Linked DNA regions of Homo sapiens: region 2 is linked to region 1. Evidence: promoter capture Hi-C in 16 types of primary human blood cells and fetal thymus (Javierre and others, 2016). All regions are on one chromosome and are shown on one strand. Each heading gives the region's core, a stretch centred on a gene start or on the middle of the fragment in contact. The rest is flanking DNA. Distances are from core to core; before and after follow the strand shown.

Region 1 (4,586 bases), core at 92-2,591:
GTACACCTAGGAGTGTGACAGTCTTGTTAGCAGAACAACTTCATAAGACCTTAAGTTACTCAACAGCAAATACCTGAATAATAGTAACTTCACTGCCACAGAGTTACACACTAGATTTTCCTCCTCCTAAGGATGTTTCAAAAAAAACAAAAACCCTCAAAGGTGCCACCAAAACCCAAGAAATGTTGTTTCTAGAAACTATATGGGATTTTTACATCGCAGTTAAGACTACAGGAAAATCATGAGACAGTTTCGGCATTAAAGAGAGAAGAGAATGACACATATTCCTCCCGATATCACTTTATAAAACCTCCCATTCCAAGCCCCAATAACAAACTAAGTAGAACATCTCAGATATACTCTCTCAGAATCTTAAGGGTGAAATCCAAATGCCACTCCCCCCCGAGAGAGGCAGCAAACAAGTTTCTCCCAATTCCAACAAAGTGGGTAAACCTAAGGCCTACAATTAGAAATGAAAGATTCTGCCCATCTGCTAAAATAAGGAGGGGCTTGTCAGTCTTGTCTGATGGAACTGGAGGGGAGCGTGACAAGAGAGGTTGCACAGGATAGGCCCAGATCTTACTCAAGAACTGTAGCCCTACCAGATTGGTGTGGGTATGAGAAAGCAACTCAGCAGCAGAGGTAGGTAACAAAGGTAGGACCTGAACCTCCTAGTGAGGAGCTACGTGGCATTAAGCAAACAGTGCTTCGTCTCCCTCACACCCAGCTTCCGCCCAAACCATTTTCCCCTTTGGTTACCAGTTGCTCCAGATGCCGTAGAGTAGTTCCACAAAAGCGAAAGAGAGGTTCAGGCACAGGAAGAAAAACAGGTTCCGGGAAGTCTTGTCGGACAGTATAGACCTGGGAATGATACACGTGGAAAAGAGCCGGGAGAGTTAAGGAGGTGCCGGGACCCCGAGGCTGGGTACCCTCTTCAAGACCCTCCCAGTTCACATGCTCCTTTCTTCACAGCTAGGGGTTGACGGGGAGTTTTTGACTCTCCCTCACTGGACCTCGGGCCATCCTGAGGTCTGGGCCTTCTCCCTTTCTGCCGGACACCCCCTCCCCGCAAACACAGCACCCCGCACCTAAACCAGCCCGAGATCTTGCCGAACAAATTGAACTTGGGTGGTTTGTATTCATCGTCTTTGATGGACAGGGGCAACATCTTCTCTGCCCGGCGAAGGGCCGGGTCTACTCCCCTCTAGAAGTGGCTCCGTGGGGTGATGGCAGTGACAGTAGTGACGCCTCAAACGGGAATCCCCAGCGCTTGTCCGGGGCCGCGCGCCGCTGCGAGACACAGACAGACACAGACACACACCCGGGAATTCGCTTACTTCCGGCCCGGGCCGCGCAACGCGTCCTGGGACAGGAAAGGAGGGAGGCCGGTCGCGGGCGGGGCCTGCGCGGCGGAGGGCGTGGCTTGCGGCGGGGGCGGGATGAGAAAGGTGCTGGAGCTGTTGGAGGGACGCCAGGAGGTGGCAACTACCAGGGGGTGTGAGGGGCTGACCTGGGATGGAATCCTGCCACCCGGACTCAGGAAGAAAATCCTGAGGTGGCGACCTGCAGACTGGGCTGGGAGATGGAGAGCCCGCTCACGCCCACCCGACCGCCTACCACCAGTGTTCCCGGATGCATGGGCTCCAGCGCCTGCCCTTTCGCCATTTCCTCCCAACTGGCATTAAATCCTGGTGTGGTAGATATCAGTGATTAAGAGTCTAGGCAGCCACGTGTTCTATTGCCGCCAGTCCGCAGGAAACGCAAGTGATCGTTTTGCTGCGTTAACTCTATGGGCGCCCAAATCTTAGGAATCCATTCCACGCCACCCCGAAAACAGCGCTTGACCCTTCTGGACTGCCACGCAGGAGGCGATCAATGTTTTTCTTTCTTTATTTTTTTAAGAGACAAGGTCTCGCCCTGTCACCTAGGCTGGAGCACAATGAGGCTCACTACAGCCTGGAACTCCCGGACGCAAGTGATCCTCCTCAGCCTCCGGAGTAGCTGAGACCTCAGGCGTGCGCCACCATGCCTGGCATCAATCAATGTCTTTCAAAATAAAGGCTGTTAAACGTAGTATAGGAAAGAAGCTTTTTAATGGTAGGTTCTACCAGACGTGTTTGTTTGATTTTTAGGTTTGGTTAATGCATTGTTTCCCGTACAATCTCAACCCGCGGAAACCCCGAAACTCTAGAATTCGTGCCGGTCTCTTTCGCTTCCAGGTCATCCCCGGGGCAACGGCCGCCGCTCTAATTCTTGTCAGAACCTCCAGGCCAGTTTCAGCAACGTGCAGGCAGAAGCTGGCCCCTCGGTGGGATGCGAGGGCGTGTGGAGCGCGGGGAGGAGAGCCCCACAGGCCTTTCCTGGGCACCCGCGGTGGATGGGAAGGCTCCTTCGGGCGCCTTTCAGGGAAGTTGTTTGGCTGAGGGAAGGTGGTCCGTCACGTGAATGTTTAAAAGTTGTTACCTTGGAGAAGAAATGGAGGAAAGGATTGGCTTTCGGAGGTGGGCTGGAAACTACAAAACCGAGCTTCCTGGGAATGCCTTTTAGGCCGACAGGAAGTGGAGCGTCACCGAAAGGGAGGGGCGGCCACTCGGGGACTGTCCCTTGCTCCAGGCGCTCACTTTGCGGGCGGCACTTTTTCCAGGTTGTTAATCCAGCTAATGGAGAAGGATAGATGCACGCTACTTGGTTTAGAAAAAAAAACAAAAATGAGCAAACGAGACGCCCCTTCCGTTTTATGATAACTAAGCTGCAGGGAAATAAATCGGCTGGCCCTACTGCAATCTACTGCACTCGAGGTAAGGAGACACAGCAAAATGCTCCAGTATTAGTATTTTTCTTTTTGTAGTGAGGATATATGCATGTTTTGCTCTCGTTCTGAGAACTTTGTGTGTGTGTATGGAGTATTCGGTGGTTTTATTTTTGAAAATATGTACTTATTCTACAATTTTGAAAAATGTTAATTAAAACTGCTGTGTAAAAACAGCTAGGTTTCAGAAGTAAGTTCTGGGAAGAGTATTTTGTATTTGCCTTTGTTAGCGTATATTTCATTCTTTTAATTTAAGTGTAGAAATATTTAAAATTAGTAGCATTTACTCTTTTTTTGGAAGGAAGTTTTTGTATTAGCAGTAGACCTTGAATTTTACTCTACTGCACTGCTGAGGAAAAATTAATTGGGTGCAAACTAGATAGTTTAAAGATAAATAATTCTATGGTAATTGGATTTTTCTCCAAAACGCCCTTATTCAATATGATTTAACTTGGGAGAAGGCGGGAGAAGTAATAGAAATAATTAAATTTCAGCAACTGATTTCCAGCATAATCCTAACTCATCAAGGTCAGCTGCATTTTGAACTTTTTTGTATTCTGCCTTTGAAAATAAGTCCTATATTTTATACTGTATTGCTACAAATCAGAAATCGCTTAAGTGGTTTATGGAGAAACCTACATTACCTCTTTTCAAATAGTTTTGAAATGGGTACGAGAAATTGAAGTTTAATTTCAGTTACATCAGTTTCCAGAGACTCCCAAATTCCCCCACTCCCCATCCCCCAAGATATATGATAGGTATTCCCATGAGGACCTTCTCCTTTCAAAAAGTGATGGTGATGTCTTCACATCTTTCAGTCTTAAAGAGCATAATGACCAAATTTAAAACTAAAGGCATTTTATTTGCAATATAAAAGTGTAGGTGGACACTATTTAAATCAGGAAAAGTTCTATGAGTGAAAAACGTCAGGCTGTGCCTCACTTCTTTTGTCATTGTCAAATAATGTTTGTCCCATATATGTTAACCTATCTTTGTTGTCATATCAAATTTGTTTCTTTCATTCATTCAACAGTCATTTAATGAATGTCTTCTATGTGCCAGGCTCTGTGCTGGGTGCTGGGGATACAAAGCCAGATAAATAAAAAGTTCCTTCCCTGGAGGAATTTTATGGAAAAGAGTAGTTATGAAGAAAGGGGGGGGTTGTGACAGGCAAATCAGTCTCGTCTTTTAGAACTCTGTGATGTTTAAAATTTACACAAGGGATGCCCTTGGAGCAGTGTGAAGGGACAGCTGTCACTCAGTAAGTCTTTCCATAAATACTAAGCCATTCCTTTTGCCCTTTCAATATGTCGTATTGGAAAATCAAAAATGATTCTTCAACTCTGTTCAAATGGTATCTTGCAAGTCACCAATCAGAATTCTTAATTCCTTTGTATGTTACAAGATTAAATCGGTTTATAAGATCATAAAATACATATACTATTGAACATTTTTAAACTAAAAAATGGATTTCTACCCTGAACTTTTAAATATGTTTTTATATCTCTCCTACCAACTAATTGCATTAGGTTAGCTATGCAGACTCTATGGGTGGAAAAACCCCAGCTGCTCAGACGTGTGACTGAGGATTCTGAGAAATGAAAGCAGAGAGAATTAAGGGGCAGAAGCTCATTTCAGTCATGGTTTCAGCTCCTTTTGGGCAATGGTCAGCAAGGAATAGGAAAGATGCTATCTGTCATTCCTCAGTAATCAACCCTGGCATTTATCTGCAACCCTGTTTGACCCTTTTAGATGCTTCAAATTGAGCGCCCTGGGA
Region 2 (4,880 bases), core at 1,073-3,572, 2.0 Mb after region 1:
CAAAGGGTAGCATTTTGATAAATCATTCTTAGTTCATTTTGCCACAACTCTATGTCCCAAGCCCTCGTGGTTTTGTTTTTATTTCTGATTTTATGGCAGACATTGTTAATCTATCACTGAATCCATTCTCACTGAGTAGGCCAGATAGGCAGACAGGCTCATTTCCTGTTTTCATGTGGTTTAGAGAAAAGATCAAAAGCCCTTTACTCAAACTGTAGCTTACCTAACTTCCAGCCAATCAGCAACAAAAAACCCAAGAAGCTATTAACCACAAGTTCCTGCTTTAGGGGGATAGGGACTTCCCTTCGGCTCCACATGTGCAGGTAGCCTTAAACTTTAACTTATAATTGCCCCTCCCCCTCATTTTAATACTAAAAGTCACACAGCCAGTAGTGGAGATTTAAAACGGTAATATTACATGTGGTGTATGAAGAAACATGTAGAGCCATTGCACAAGTGCTAGAAAAAACCCTCCTATACATGCCCTGATGAAATCCTTCCCTATAGAAAGTCCGCATAAAACAAATCCACATACTACCCTCCAGGAGCAGCCTGCCCTTTTCCTTTTGTGGTGCCGACTTCCTTGTGCACAAGCTAAAATAATGCTTTCTCTTTCTCTATGCTGCTATATCTAGTGATCTCTCTTGATTTCTATTGTCATCTTTCTTGAGACATTACAAGAACAAAGGGCACTGATAACACCTGTATGCAGCTTCAGAATCAGGCTTAACTCAGCAACTCAGTGGATAGGGAAGGCACGATTGGCTCAGGCTGGAATCAGGTGGACCTATCTTCCTTATCAGCAGATGAGCAATTATATGAGAAGTCATGATTTACTCTAATGACATTATGTCTTCTCTGGAAGGAAAAAAATTAATCCTAGAGACAGAGCGCCTCAAAGCCAGGATATCGTAAGTGTATTGACAGCTGAACTCAGACAAAATTATGGACGAGACTAAATTAAGTTTCAAGTCTCCTCCCACATGCCCACCTCTTAGTTTCTCCATAATTAAGCCTGCTTGGAGTGATTACCATACTTCATTCCCTTCCAAAATATATTTTTTCTTCTATTTCCTCCACCACAAAACTTAGTAATTTATAGACTCATTGCTTTAAAAATAACCTTTCGGCCTTAGCACACCTTAGACATTTAAGAAAATGCTGGCTTATCTGATAAGTGGGGAAAAAAGTGTCAAGAAAAAAATGCTCATTAGATGCAAGGAGTGCTTCCAATTAGGTAGTTAAATATGCTGAATCCTGTAAATCTTTGTATAGCAACACATGGCAGATTATAACTGCTGGGATGACCCTTACATATAGTGAATATGAAATAGTCAAACAGTAAAGTCCTAGCTAGGTGGCTGGGTGGCACTCCGTTTTAAGTAATTTTTAAAACCAACCACAATATCCCCACTGGGAAATTTGCTACACAGAAAGTGGCCACTGTTTACAGCCATTGGTCACTCTCCAACCCAACAACTCATTTATTCTTCATAACTCTTATCAATATGCAGAAATATTTACTTGTATTATTATTATTTATTACATATGTTCCCTTACTAGAATTTAAGCTTCAAGAAAAAAAGAACCTTGACCATGACTAGATCCTTAGGAACTAAATAAATATTTGTTGAAAGAATAAATGAATCTAAAACCCAAGCCTTTGACAGTACCCCATAATTAAAGCCAGAGATAATTATAGAATCCCATTCTTCTTAGCTACTGAGAAAATTTTAGAAGATACTTTATCAATGTATATGTATAATACATATATTATATACAAATATATGCACATTTTACATAAAGACCAGAAAATATGATGGTATAACTTAATGTTGAAGAGAAAGAAAGGGGCAAAGGGAAAGGCGGCTTTTTAGACACTAAGTAAAATTTGGCCACTTGGTAATTTTCCCTTAGGTAGGACCTCATCAGAAAGCCTACTTAATTTAATGCAGTTGAGATTTTTCCAGGTGTCAGCCTTCATGCTGATGATATTTCTCAAAACTTCTTATTATATCTTTCAAAATAAGCAATTCCAACTTCTTTACTCATCCTTTAGGAGTCCTGTTGTTTCTTCTCTATTGGATCCAGCTATGAATTACTCTGGCACTTGAGATTTCACTTGCACCTTATATCAGAGACTGTGAAAGCAAATGCTTACAAGACCAGGAAGATAACAATAATGAGTGATACCTTGGTCTTTTTGTGAAAATGTTTTTCATTGTATGAATGAGGGGTATGTACCCACACAGAGTGGTGGAGGTTGCTATGTGTAGCTCCTGTCAATTGTTGTGATACCAGAATTAAGACCCTCCACCACCGGATCATCTAATATTTCAAGAGAATCCAGAAATCTGGATTGTATGAGAAAATTATAGTCTTCAGTTGGATTGATTTTTATAAACCACTTGAGGATACACAAGTTAGGTCTATGTATCCAGTGCAACATGCTATCAGTTGTTTTTCAATTCTAAAATAATGATACTCTGGTTACTTTTCTCAAGACATATGCAGACTTTGGCTCTCTAAGACCTTTGACTAGCTGTGTTAGGACACATTAGTCTACCAGACTGTGTGGGGCAAGCAACATATCATGCAGCACCCTCGTTTAATAGTGATTACAGCAGTTTCACCCAGCTCATGTAAATGCCTAAGACAGTCCTGGCTATTGGCAATACTGTAGAATATTAGAATGACCTTGCCTTTCGTCTGGGTCATACACTGATTTTATATACATATATGAGTTTTCTGTGTTGGTTCCTTATTACAGACCTTCTTGCCTTCTTTTCAGCTTGTTGGCATTTGAGCCAATGCTATGGCCCAGCCATGTTATAAAATCATAATGATTCCCAATTACCTAATATGTGAAGTGTTGGGTACTTTTTCCCTTCAGGGTTTTTCATAGCTAGTAATGTAATAAACTATGTTCAATTTGGCCCATTCATTGTACTTGAAGAGGATGATATATATTCCATACCTGAACTATTGATTATTCATTAAAATTCAGCCCTTCCTTTTCCCCTGATTAATTCCTGTCAGTTTAATTTCTCTTCTTCTATTACAATAAGCTTTCAATTGTTTCCTGACCACAAGTCTCATGCTCATTTTGCCAGTCATTCAAACATATGCCCAAATAACTATTTAAAATCTATGTTTCTATCATAATCAGATAATATTCATAGTTACTTATCTGTAGGATAACATCTATGTATCAAAGCATGTGATATTATAAGAACAAAATATTTAAAATGGTGCTTTTTGCCACTTTCTCAAACAATCTAATATTTAGTCCCAATTCTGCAGAGACCACTTGCTTTCACACCTCTCTGGCTTTACCATGTTTACACTATTCTTTTCAGCTATCCATACCCATTGTATCTTTTGAACACTGACCAAACAGCAATTCTATTTGACCATTTCCTCAACAATTCCAGATAGTATTGTTTTCCTTACCTGTGCTATTTACTTTTATGATAGCATTCAACATATCTTTTTAGATTTTTTATTTTTCCTTATATTTGCTTGGGATCTTAAAGTAGATGGGGACCATGTGTTCATTTATATAGAACCACTACTCTAGTGCTGAAACTACAAAATAGGAGGCATTTATTAAAATATTTTCATATAAATAAATAATTTCATGACTCTTTAGTAATAAAGCATAAGGACTAAGAGGTAGGATTTGGAAAACAAAAAGAATTGAGTTCAAATTCCATATCTGATATTTTTAGCTGGGAAATTTTAAGCAAGTCAAATTACCTGCCTTGGCCTTAGTTTCTTCTTTGAAATATACTATTAAGAAAATGAAGAGGAAATCCAGAGCCTGCAAGAAAATATTTGGAACACATATGCAGATGCTCCTCGATTTATGATGGGGTTACAGCTCAATAAATTCATAGTAAGTTAAAAATATTGAAGTCAAAAATGCACTTTAGTACACTCAACCCACCCAACATTATAGCTTGGCCTAGCCTACCCTAAATGAGCTCAGAACATTAGCCTCTTGTTGGGCAAAATCATCTAACACAAAGCCTATTTTATAATAGTGACTATCTCATATAATTTATTGAATACTATAAATACATGGTTTGATATATGCAAATCAATTTATGTGACTCATGGCATAAAAAAATTAAGGACAAAAATTATGTGACATGGTTTGGCTGTGTCCCCACCCAAATCTCATCTTGATTTGTAGCTCCCATAATTCCTACATGTTGTGGGAGGCACCCAGTGGGAGATAATTAAATCATGGGGCAGTTTTCCCCATACTGTTCTCATGGCAGTGAATAAGTATCATAAGATCTGATGGTTTTATAAAGGGCTTCCCCTTTTGCTTGGCTCTCATTCTGTCTTGCTTGCTGCCATGTAAAATGTGCCTTTTGCCTCCCACCATGATTATGAGACCTCCCCAGTCACATGGAACTGTGAGTCCATTAAACCTCTTTTTCTTTATAAATTGCCCAGTCTCAGGTATGTCTTTATCAGCAGCATGAAAACAGACTAATAGAATAGAGTGGGGCACTGCTGTAAAGATATCCAAAAATATGGAAATGACTTTGGAACTGGCAAACAGGAAGAGGTTGGAACAGTTTGGAGGGCTCAGAAGAAGAGAGGAAAATGTGGGAAAGTTTGGAACTTCCTAGAGATTTGTTCAACGGCTTTGACCAAAATGTTGATAATGATATGGACAATGAAATCCAGGCTGATATGGTCTCAGATGGAGATGAGAAACTAGTCAGGAACTGGAGTAAAGGTGACTGTTGCTATGTTTTAGCAAAGGGACTAGCAGAATTTTGTCCCTGACCTACAGATTTGTTGAGCTTTGAACTTGAGGGAGATGACTTACAGTATCTAGCAGAAGAAATTTCTAAGCAGCA

Evidence for each region. The method cuts DNA at HindIII sites, captures the fragments that hold promoters and counts their contacts. A CHiCAGO score of 5 or more calls a contact.
Region 2: a fragment that was not itself captured here is called in contact with the fragment with the promoter of SLC30A7 in region 1 in 2 of 17 cell types (total CD4 T cells and total CD8 T cells); the score reaches 9.4 in total CD4 T cells.

What each region holds. Positions count from the first base shown.
Region 1 is chr1:100,892,845-100,897,430 of GRCh38, reverse strand. It overlaps SLC30A7 (solute carrier family 30 member 7), which reads right to left and starts at 1,341. Exons shown (of 11, transcript NM_133496.5): 1 at 1,089-1,341; 2 at 760-861. The coding sequence starts at 1,168. It overlaps EXTL2 (exostosin like glycosyltransferase 2), which reads left to right and starts at 2,589. Exons shown (of 5, transcript NM_001033025.3): 1 at 2,589-2,798. RefSeq lists enhancers at 837-996, 1,047-1,296, 1,847-1,916, 1,811-2,533, 2,534-3,257. The HindIII fragment of the contact is 2,158 bases long and covers 1-2,089 here.
Region 2 is chr1:98,867,054-98,871,933 of GRCh38, reverse strand. No RefSeq gene overlaps it. Among named protein-coding and RNA genes, the nearest start is that of PLPPR5-AS1, 130 kb to the left of the region's middle. RefSeq lists an enhancer at 242-361. The HindIII fragment of the contact is 1,497 bases long and covers 1,574-3,070 here.